2 separate regions of the Homo sapiens genome follow, and region 1 is linked to region 2. Evidence: promoter capture Hi-C in 16 types of primary human blood cells and fetal thymus (Javierre and others, 2016). All regions are on one chromosome and are shown on one strand. Each heading gives the region's core, a stretch centred on a gene start or on the middle of the fragment in contact. The rest is flanking DNA. Distances are from core to core; before and after follow the strand shown.

The links. Contacts are between HindIII fragments. The CHiCAGO score rates a contact against its expected background, and 5 or more counts as called.
Region 1: a contact is called between a fragment that was not itself captured here and the fragment with the promoter of FGG in region 2, in 2 of 17 cell types (naive B cells and total B cells). The highest score is 6.8, in naive B cells.

What each region holds. Positions count from the first base shown.
Region 1 is chr4:154,327,789-154,333,849 of GRCh38, reverse strand. It overlaps DCHS2 (dachsous cadherin-related 2), which reads left to right. Exons shown (of 20, transcript NM_001358235.2): 5 at 356-1,372; 6 at 4,140-4,327; 7 at 5,658-5,757. Among named protein-coding and RNA genes, the nearest start is that of DCHS2, 160 kb to the left of the region's middle. The HindIII fragment of the contact is 588 bases long and covers 3,463-4,050 here.
Region 2 is chr4:154,610,842-154,616,643 of GRCh38, reverse strand. FGG (fibrinogen gamma chain) reads left to right here and starts at 3,988. Exons shown (of 9, transcript NM_021870.3): 1 at 3,988-4,112; 2 at 4,209-4,253; 3 at 4,443-4,626; 4 at 4,746-4,839. The coding sequence starts at 4,035. RefSeq lists an enhancer at 2,774-3,946. The HindIII fragment of the contact is 2,366 bases long and covers 3,035-5,400 here.

The DNA of each region.
Region 1 (6,061 bases), core at 2,507-5,006, 280 kb after region 2:
GTCAGTGTGCAGACATCACAGAGTGTACTCACACGAACCTGGATGGTGTGGCCTACCAGACACCTAGGCTAAATGTTACAGTCGATTGCTCCTAGGCTACAAACCTGCACAGCATATTACTGCACTTAATACTGTAGGCAGTTGTACCCCAATGGTAAGGATTTATGTATGTGAGCACAGAAAAGGTACAATAAAATACGGTGTCAGAATCTTACGGAACCATCATAGTATATGTGATCCATCATTGACTGAAGTGTCATTAGGCAGTGGATGACTGTATTAACATTTCAATTTCTGAGTTTCCAGTGGGTCCACCCTTTTGACATACAGTGGTTGTCCCCTCTCTCTTTTTCAGACTCCTCAGAACCAATCTTTTACAGGATTTCTTCTGGTGATCTCGGCGGAAAGTTCTCCATTCACCCGCGGCTGGGCACTATTCGCACCCGGAAGCCCCTGGATCACGAGACGCAGCCCGTGGTTGTGCTCACGGTGCAGGCGCAGCTCGGCAGCGCCCCAGCCTGCAGCAGCACCGAGGTCAACATAACAGTCATGGATGTCAATGACAACCACCCAGCGTTCCTCAGGACCTCGGATGAGATTAGAATATCCCAGACCACGCCCCCTGGCACAGCCTTGTACCTCGCACGTGCGGAAGACAGAGACAGTGGGCGGAACGGACTCATCCGGTACTCCATCGCCAGCCCGCAGCCAGGCGTCTTTGCCATCGACAGAGCCCTGGGGGTGCTGTTCCTCAACGGCAGCCTGGGCGCGGGCGAGCAGCGGGAGCTCACGCTGACTCTCAGGGCCGAGGACCAAGGCGTGCATCCTCAGGCAGCCCTGCTGGTGCTGACAGTCGTTATCGAGAAACGCGAACACAGCCCATCCTGGACTTTCGAACATTTGGTCTATCAAGTGGAAGTCAGTGAGTCTCTCTCACCGATGACACAAATGCTGCAAACACAGGCGCACCCACTTGGCCCCCAGCGTGCAGCCTCGCCTCTTAGGTACTCGCTGGAACCCAGCGTAGACTCTGCTATGTTTGGAATCCGCCCTTACACGGGCTGGATTTATTTGCGGCGACAGTTTGACTATGAATCCACCCAAACATATAATTTTAGAGTGTTTGCTTGGATCCCCGAGGACGGATTCTTGCAAAATGTGAGCACTACAGTCATTGTTCGTGTCTGGGATGAGAATGACAATTCCCCCACCTTCTTGCATGATGTGTTGTTTTTGAAAGTCGAAGAGAGCCCTGTTCCCCAAGGGGTAATAGGCAAAATTACAGCTATTGACATGGACTCTGGAAAGAATGGACAGCTATTATATTTCCTTTTGTCTGATGGAAAATTCTTCAAGATGAATCCTAATACAGGTAGCACTTCATAGTTTCCACCTATTCCTTTAAAATGAGGGTTCAGTACTATCACACTCGTCTTTAAGTAAAAATAAAAATAAAAAATTAAACAAAATCAGGATTGAGAAAACTCAAGTCGTTAGGTATAGCATTAGTGCATACATGCAATTGAAATAATGGTTTTTAATAAATAAGGTATTCGATTACTCTATTGTGAGGTCTTAAAAATGGATTAAAAATTGAATAGAGTTTCACCCATAATAATTCATACTTTCCCTGCATCACATCCCCATCTTGCCAATATATGGTTCTTTTTCTGAACTAGAGGTATAGTCAGAACTGGATTGAATATATCCTTGTGTAAAGGCTAATTTTTTCAACAACCATCCTTTTCCATTTGTAGACATTTAAAAAACGTCAAAACGTATTTTGTGAAATATAAATATCATCAATGTAAAGCTAGACATCAATTCATTGGTTAAGATTTCAAAATCACTCTAAGAATATATATCCTTTTTCTCATTCTGACAGGGGAACCAGAGGAAAAGGGGGAATAATTACAGTGAAATTTTTAAAGTCTGAATTAAGAAATTAAAGATTAAAAGTCACTATATTTTAAAATTTATGTTGTATAAGTTTACGGGGAGTTTATTTAATCCTTACAATGAAACATATCTATACTGCAAATACATACCCGGGAAAACTGAAACTCAGATAGCTCGAGTAGTACACCCAAAGTCATGGAGCTGGTAAGATGAGAAGAAGCTCCCTTTTTGTGCAGGTCCAGCAGGCACCATCTATGTCATAACCTGGGCAGATGGTGCTGCTGCCTTTAGTGGGACAGACTTTGCATTCAGTTCTGATGAACTTCAAGCCTTTGTTCTCAAGTCTCTGTTCTGTGAATTAGGAGAAGGTGACCTTTCACAGCAGATGGAGGGTTTTCACAGGGCACATGGCTTGCCAAGAAGGTTGCAAGCTGCCTTTCCACTCTCATTCACTCCCTAAACTGAGACTCCTGCTGCAAGGGCACAAACCATACAGCTATATGGGATGACCCTGCTTGCACTTTACTTCCATATGGCTAGTTTTCAAGGTCTTCTATTTCACTTGTTTTTTTCTTTAAAATAAGCAAACTACAGTTGATTCCCCCGTGATCTTCCCTCCCCTACAAGAAAACGAGGTGTCCATTCCTAATTTCATTGTATGGCTTTAAGCAAGTAGCTTAAGCTCAGAGCTGCTTCCTTACCATGAATACAGGAGACAATTCCTGACACGCCCTGTGCCATGCTTTGAGGGGTAAAGAGCTAAAGAATATGAAAGGGCTTGGAACACTACGTGCTTGTAAACTGTTCCTCCTCCCAAGGACAGCATGGCAAGGCAGGGTGGAGGGTGTCCTTCAGAGCCTGGGAGACACACCCCCTTTTCATCCAGTTCTCTGGACAGTCCTACAAGTGACCAGGACTTGAGCTCCTGTGGAACCATATCCTGGTGTCGCCCATCCCCAGCTGCAGCCTGAGCTGCACAGTCTTTTACATCCCCGACCTCCAAGGCTGCTGCTTATCCATCAGATTTGCTTTATGAATAAAAATCTGTTTGCCATTCAGAAGTTAAGGTCTTCGGAGGAGAATTATAGTTTGGAATTTAAAAAAAGCAATTGTGTGTATGATCTATATTAAAACCACCGAGTAAACACTATAAATATAGTTTATATATTAACAGTAAACAGTTATCATAAACACTGCATTTAAGCTCACCAATTCAGCAACTTACCTAAATGAGAATTTTCATTTTTGTTCCCTGTTTCCACTTTTTTTTAATGCAATGCTATTTTATTTGTATTAAGAGGAAAAAAGTTTTTAGCCACAGAAATGTTTGTCGGTAGCTGCTTCATGCTCACATTCTCACAGGTACATTTTTTTTTCATAAATGGTGAGGAAATCAATGCTTGGCAGAGCTCTGACAGGCTATTGGACCGAGTGCTTGTCTTCCCAAGGTCCCTGGCAATAGGAAGAGGCACTTAGATGTTATGCCTGGGTCTGCATGGCTGACACATGAGGAAAGTTACTGAAGGTAGTATAGCTCTAGGCAGAAATATTTGAAATAAAGCTTCTAAAGCATTAAGAGTTTTTATAGGAAGTCACTATCCACTGCTACATGTATATTTTGTGAGATAAAAAACAAATACTTGTGTGCATAAAACAAGAACTATTGCCTAAGGGATATTATTTGATTTCCAGAAAGGTATTTAGCCATTATGTTAAAGTAGTAATAACAGCTTCCACTTGTGTCGTCATGTATAGCTTGCACAATACTTTTAAATGTGTGATTACATTTCTTCCTGACAGCAGTCCCAGGCTCAGAGGAGTCATTCCATGTCTGAGATGGGGAAACTGGGGCCAAAGCCAGAACCTGTGTCAGAGCTCACATGCTTTCCATCATTCTGTATAGCAGCATAAAGAGGGATAAGCAGCAGTTTTAAATCTTCCAAATCATTACTAAGTTCCCACGGAGTTTTATCATTTTTATGAATTCATTGTTTATTAGTTCAAATGATCGATGGATGATAATTTGAAATACAAAGAATAACAAATTTAAAGTGACATTTTCAGGAGCAACTTGAGAAAATTTTTTCAACAGTACCATAGAGCCAAACTACTATGTAGATGGTCTTAGAAGTCGCATATTTGCTCAAAGCTTTGTACTTGGTTTTCCTTCTGGAAATGGTTCTGGCCCTGGTGCGCCTGGTACACAGTGCCTGTGTCTTGTTCTGCTCTGTACTCTGCAGGAGAGTTAATCAATTGGGTGGCACTGGATCGTGAGCACCGGGGGCACCATGAGATGACTGTGCTAGTGACAGACCGCGGCTCCCCACCACGAAACGCCACCATGGCGGTTTACGTCTCAGTTACTGACATCAATGATAACAGGCCCTTCTTCCCCCAGTGTCTCCCTGGAAAGGAGTTACACGTGAAGGTTTGTGAAGAAACCTTGCAATGAATTTGTAATATCTTAAGTCATTTGTTTTGAGCACCATCTTGTGGTAAAACCTGTGAATTTATCACATCAGTCTTGGTGTGGCAAAGCATACTTTTTCTAGAAGACCTAGATACTGTGCACATGTTATTTTAAAAGAAAATTTTTAAAAAGTAAATGAATATATGTGCTCTTTGGCATTGTACCTCCAGTTGCTTTATAACAATAAGTTTAGTTCAGCCCCTTGTACACAAACTGAATGGTGCTTCAGGTTAATGCTCAGACATGGCTTGTTTTTCCAGTAGTTTACGTGCATCTCTTTGTGCAGAGCTTCTTAACGGCAATTGATACATGTCTCTAAGATAGTTACTTAAGGGTAGGGGAACAACCTGTAGCTCTAAAGTGGGTAGGTGGAAATCCAGAGATAGTAAAAGTTGATCCTTTTGATCACATGCACCAACTGGCAATTATATTTATATTATCTCATCTTTTTCATTTGTCTTTTTGTATGTTGTATAATATACATAATAAATTAGAATATCAGTTCATTCACATAATTAATAAATATGTTTGGACCTACTAATAATTTTTTTAGTGGATGGGTTATAATAATGAAAAGTTTAGAAGCTACTGTTCCAGAACAATTGAATTAGACATTCAAATTGTGCTCAAATATACATATTGAACAACTCAACAAAAGTATTGAGGAACTCATAACTTTAAACTGATCTGAATCCAGCTTTAAAGAAAAATTCTAACAAAGCAAAATATTATTATATCATCATTACACTTTTTAATCATATCATTAAAATGTCCTGTGGCTTAATTGGGCAGTTGGACTCTAAACATGTAGTTGAACTTCACATGTGCATTTCAACATTGCAGGACAGCTCCTGATAATTGGTATGTCCTGCATGAGTTTTGTTTTCTGAATTAAAGGTTCATACTTATTTTAAGCATATTTTAAGCCATAGCAACCACCTTTCAAAAAATGTCCTAAGAGATGATGAATGAGAATATGCTAGAAATCTTAAAATACACCAAAAATCTAAGATTGTTTAGCAAGTTCAATTTCTTTTTCTTTTGGTCAGAATTAGTTCAGATGCCTCAGATAATTCATTCTAATTGAATAAAAGATTTAATATGTAAGGAGGATTCTTTTCATGGACATACACCCATATAACTTTTACATGGTATGCATTTGAATTATATGTGGATTTTAAGATAGTTTAAAATGTTTAGTATAATGTATTCATTCATTTAAAGGTCCACTGATATTTCTTTTTAAACTTTTGCTGACTCATTTGTAAGCTGTTTGTTTTAATGGCAGGTTCTGGAAGGTCAACCAGTAAATATGTTGGTTACAACTGTGTTTGCAAAGGATCCTGATGAAGGAAATAATGCAGAAGTTACATACTCAGTATCTTCAGGTAAAACTTACTGTTCATACGGGATTAAGAACTTTTAGGATTTCTGCTTTCATTTATCAACTATCCCCTTCTGGGAAAAGAAGTTCTATTTTGATTACTTTGAATGCTGTAGTTAGTTTTGAAAAAGCACCAAGTTACAAACAAAATACATTTGCTATTGTCAAGAACTACTTTCAGTTTTTGAAAAGTAATTTAAAGTTTAATAAAAAATCAGAGTAGCTTTTTACGTTCTTAATAGAAACCATTCATCTTTAGTGAGTAATTTGCAATAATGTGAAGTACAAATTTACTTTTATTGATAGGA
Region 2 (5,802 bases), core at 2,739-5,238:
GCTTCCTTGACCACGCAGTGGCTGTCTCTCCCTTTAACTTACTGATGGAATTCAATTTATCAAGTCCTATTAAACTTGAACCATGCAGTTAGCATTGAAAAACTGCTTCCATCTAAAATTGGACTGAAGCCAGGTGCATTGGCACGTGCCCATAGTCCGAGCTACTCAGGAGGCTGAGGCAAGAGGATCACTTGGGCCCAGCAGTTCAGTTTGAGGCCAGACTGAGCAACAAAGCTAGGCTGCATCTCTAAAGAGAGAGAAAAAAAAAAAAGGACCATAAACACAAGCTAATCATAAAACAACACAAATCTAGGTTTGAGAAATACTCAAAGACTGTAAAAGATCATTCACAAAATCTTGTCTCTAACCCAGAGAAGAAGATAGATAAGTTGGTAGATAGATGTAAATGTGTGTTCAAATAATCATGCACACAGTTATGTAGATGCACACACACATCTTTAAAATCCATTCTATCAGTGAATAACTTTGAGTCTCATAACACCTTGTATCTGTGTATTATTTTAAATTAAGAAGGGCTTCATGGTTGTATTAAGATTCATGGTTAAGAGCACAGGCATTGGGCCCCATGGGTTTGAGTTCCTGTTCTGGCACACTGACCCTGCATATGTTACACAACATCTCTAGGCCTTTCTTTTTTCATTATAAGATACAGGTAATTATATCTACTTCCTAGGCTTGTGGTGAGGATTAAATGAGAGAATATACATGACAACAAAAACTATACTACCACATAATATCTAGCATAAAGAAGATGCTCAAAATTGGTAGTTCTTTCTATTATTCCTTAGGGCTATATCATTTGTCACTAGGTCAAGAAGTCTTCTACATAATCAAATTTAAATTCAGCAAATAATTTTGGAGCAAAGATGAATGTAACAGACTTGGCTCACAGAGTAAATTACCAATATACACGAAGACTGTTAGCTGTAGATTTGTGTTTTCAAATCAGAACACAAACGGTTGGACGATAGGGAATTTGGGACATTATTATTTCAATAAACAAGCCCACTGACCTCAGAGTTACAGTAAATGATTATTTTGGCTTAAATACTACCTATGCTATTATCTCAAAAAACATACCTGGAAGTAGAAGAACTGTGATTTAAGAAACATTCTTCATTCCTGGAATTCATCAATCATTTATCATTTTTCAAAGAAAAAATTGGCCCAAACATGAAAAAACTAGTTAAAATTTAATAAACCTAAGTGATACTAGATTGAATGCAGGGCCAATGTAGACCGCTAAATCACTGTTGACCATTTTTTTTTCTCAGAGAGCAAGCATCTTGTCTTATATGATTTGGATTTAGGACTTGAGATTGTAGTAAAAGGAAATTATTTTCTCTAAAATTGTGATAACACATCTGGATTCCAATATAAGTCAGTTAAAAGCCTGTAATACAAGTATTCCACTTCTAAAATGGGATAAGATAGAATTTCTAATGTCCTCAATTTAAATGTTTATCAACTTTGTGAATATTATATATCTTAACACAACCAATGAAACTTTATGACATTAAGGAGCTCAGAACCCAACCTGTGGCTGCATGAATTGTTACCCTAAATTCAACAAACTAATATTTTATGGTCTTCAGCAAAAAGAACCACAAAGACATGCTCTGTCTAAACACACTTTGCTTGAACATTCTTACAGATAGGAAGTATACCTTCTCACAAGGCATGCAATCCATTTATATTATCATTTGATCTTTGATTGGTAAAATCAATTTGGATAGAATTTCCTAAACTAAACGACCAGGTGCTTTCTTCTCTGGGGAATCTTACAGAAGGAGACTGCAGTTAGTTGCAACAGATTTTTTATTAAAGAGAATTTCTGTAGCTAGAACAACAAAGCTTGTTCCCTGTGAACCAAATCTACCAATAATAGCTCTATTAAAAGAGTTTCCTATTTACATAGATTTTATACCAAATATATTTGGTAATTCATAAACCTTACAAACATTTACTTAACACTTACCATGAATTGGGTAATGTGCTCAACACATTATCCCACTAAATCTTAGTAATAGCCCTATTAAGTAAATACCATATCATAAGTATTATCTCTCTTTTACTGACATGGATAATGGAACTCAAGGAGATTGAGTAACTTGTACTGAATCACACAGCCAGTAAATTGTAAAGATGGGACTCAAACCTAGGGAGATGGACTCCAGAGCCTTAACAACTATTTATTTATACATTCTCCAATTGAGCTACACACTTCTTGAAGGCAAAGGCAATGCCTGAGTCACCTTTCATGTTCAAATCATATTAAAAAGTTAGCAAGATGTAATTATCAGTGTACTATGTAAATCTTTGTGAATGATCAATAATTACATATTTTCATTATATATATTTTAGTAGATAATATTTATATACATTCAACATTCTAAATATAGAAAGTTTACAGAGAAAAATAAAGCCTTTTTTTCCAATCCTGTCCTCCACCTCTGCATCCCATTCTTCTTCACAGAGGCAACTGATTCAAGTCATTACATAGTTATTGAGTGTTAACTACAACTATGTTAAGTACAGCTATATATGTTAGATGCCGTAGCCACAGAAATCAGTTTACAATCTAATGCAGTGGATACAGCATGTATACATATAATATAAGGTTGCTACAAATGCTATCTGAGGTAGAGCTGTTTGAAAGAATACTAATACTTAAATGTTTAATTCAACTGACTTGATTGACAACTGATTAGCTGAGTGGAAAAGATGGATGAGAAAGATTGTGAGACTTAATTGGCTGGTGGTATGGTGATATGATTGACAATAACTGCTAAGTCAGAGAGGGATATATTAAGGAGGAGAAGAAAAGCAACAAATCTGGTTTTGATGTGTTCACTTTGTTATAATTATTGATTATTTACTGAATATGAATATTTATCTTTGTTTTTGAGTCAATAAATATACCTTTGTAAAGACAGAATTAAAGTATTAGTATTTCTTTCAAACTGGAGGCATTTCTCCCACTAACATATTTCATCAAAACTTATAATAAGCTTGGTTCCAGAGGAAGAAATGAGGGATAACCAAAAATAGAGACATTAATAATAGTGTAACGCCCAGTGATAAATCTCAATAGGCAGTGATGACAGACATGTTTTCCCAAACACAAGGATGCTGTAAGGGCCAAACAGAAATGATGGCCCCTCCCCAGCACCTCATTTTGCCCCTTCCTTCAGCTATGCCTCTACTCTCCTTAGATACAAGGGAGGTGGATTTTTCTCTTCTCTGAGATAGCTTGATGGAACCACAGGAACAATGAAGTGGGCTCCTGGCTCTTTTCTCTGTGGCAGATGGGGTGCCATGCCCACCTTCAGACAAAGGGAAGATTGAGCTCAAAAGCTCCCTGAGAAGTGAGAGCCTATGAACATGGTTGACACAGAGGGACAGGAATGTATTTCCAGGGTCATTCATTCCTGGGAATAGTGAACTGGGACATGGGGGAAGTCAGTCTCCTCCTGCCACAGCCACAGATTAAAAATAATAATGTTAACTGATCCCTAGGCTAAAATAATAGTGTTAACTGATCCCTAAGCTAAGAAAGTTCTTTTGGTAATTCAGGTGATGGCAGCAGGACCCATCTTAAGGATAGACTAGGTTTGCTTAGTTCGAGGTCATATCTGTTTGCTCTCAGCCATGTACTGGAAGAAGTTGCATCACACAGCCTCCAGGACTGCCCTCCTCCTCACAGCAATGGATAATGCTTCACTAGCCTTTGCAGATAATTTTGGATCAGAGAAAAAACCTTGAGCTGGGCCAAAAAGGAGGAGCTTCAACCTGTGTGCAAAATCTGGGAACCTGACAGTATAGGTTGGGGGCCAGGATGAGGAAAAAGGAACGGGAAAGACCTGCCCACCCTTCTGGTAAGGAGGCCCCGTGATCAGCTCCAGCCATTTGCAGTCCTGGCTATCCCAGGAGCTTACATAAAGGGACAATTGGAGCCTGAGAGGTGACAGTGCTGACACTACAAGGCTCGGAGCTCCGGGCACTCAGACATCATGAGTTGGTCCTTGCACCCCCGGAATTTAATTCTCTACTTCTATGCTCTTTTATTTCTCTCTTCAACATGTGTAGCAGTAAGTGTGCTCTTCACAAAACGTTGTTTAAAATGGAAAGCTGGAAAATAAAACAGATAATAAACTAGTGAAATTTCTGTATTTTTTCTCTTTTAGTATGTTGCTACCAGAGACAACTGCTGCATCTTAGATGAAAGATTCGTAAGTAGTTTTTATGTTTCTCCCTTTGTGTGTGAACTGGAGAGGGGCAGAGGAATAGAAATAATTCCCTCATAAATATCATCTGGCACTTGTAACTTTTTAAAAACATAGTCTAGGTTTTACCTATTTTTCTTAATAGATTTTAAGAGTAGCATCTGTCTACATTTTTAATCACTGTTATATTTTCAGGGTAGTTATTGTCCAACTACCTGTGGCATTGCAGATTTCCTGTCTACTTATCAAACCAAAGTAGACAAGGATCTACAGTCTTTGGAAGACATCTTACATCAAGTTGAAAACAAAACATCAGAAGTCAAACAGCTGATAAAAGCAATCCAACTCACTTATAATCCTGATGAATCATCAAAACCAAGTGAGAAAATAAAGACTACTGACCAAAAAATAATAATAATAATCTGTGAAGTTCTTTTGCTGTTGTTTTAGTTGTTCTATTTGCTTAAGGATTTTTATGTCTCTGATCCTATATTACAGATATGATAGACGCTGCTACTTTGAAGTCCAGGAAAATGTTAGAAGAAATTATGAAATATGAAGCATCGATTTTAACACATGACTCAAGTATTCGGTAAGGATTTTTGTTTTAATTTGCTCTGCAAGACTGATTTAGTTTTTATTTAATATTCTATACTTGAGTGAAAGTAATTTTTAATGTGTTTTCCCCATTTATAATATCCCAGTGACATTATGCCTGATTATGTTGAGCATAGTAGAGATAGAAGTTTTTAGTGCAATATAAATTATACTGGGTTATAATTGCTTATTAATAATCACATTGAAGAAAGATGTTCTAGATGTCTTCAAATGCTAGTTTGACCATATTTATCAAAAATTTTTTCCCCATCCCCCATTTATCTTACAACATAAAATCAATCTCATAGGAATTTGGGTGTTGAAAATAAAATCCTCTTTATAAAAATGCTGACAAATTGGTGGTTAAAAAAATTAGCAAGCAGAGGCATAGTAAGGATTTTGGCTCCTAAAGTAAATTATATTGAATGTGGAGCAGGAAGAAACATGTCTTGAGAGACTAAGTGTGGCAAATATTGCAAAGCTCATATTGATCATTGCAGAATGAACCTGCATAGTCTCTTCCCTTCATTTGGAAGTGAATGTCTCTGTTAAAGCTTCTCAGGGACTCATAAACTTTCTGAACATAAGGTCTCAGATACAGTTTTAATATTTTTCCCCAATTTTTTTTTCTGAATTTTTCTCAAAGCAGCTTGAGAAATTGAGATAAATAGTAGCTAGGGAGAAGTGGCCCAGGAAAGATTTCTCCTCTTTTTGCTATCAGAGGGCCCTTGTTATTATTGTTATTATTATTACTTGCATTATTATTGTCCATCATTGAAGTTGAAGGAGGTTATTGTACAGAAATTGCCTAAGACAAGGTAGAGGGAAAACGTGGACAAATAGTTTGTCTACCCTTTTTTACTTCAAAGAAAGAACGGTTTATGCATTGTAGACAGTTTTCTATCATTTTTGGATATTTGCAAGCCACCCTGTAAGTAACTACAAAAGGAGGGTTTTT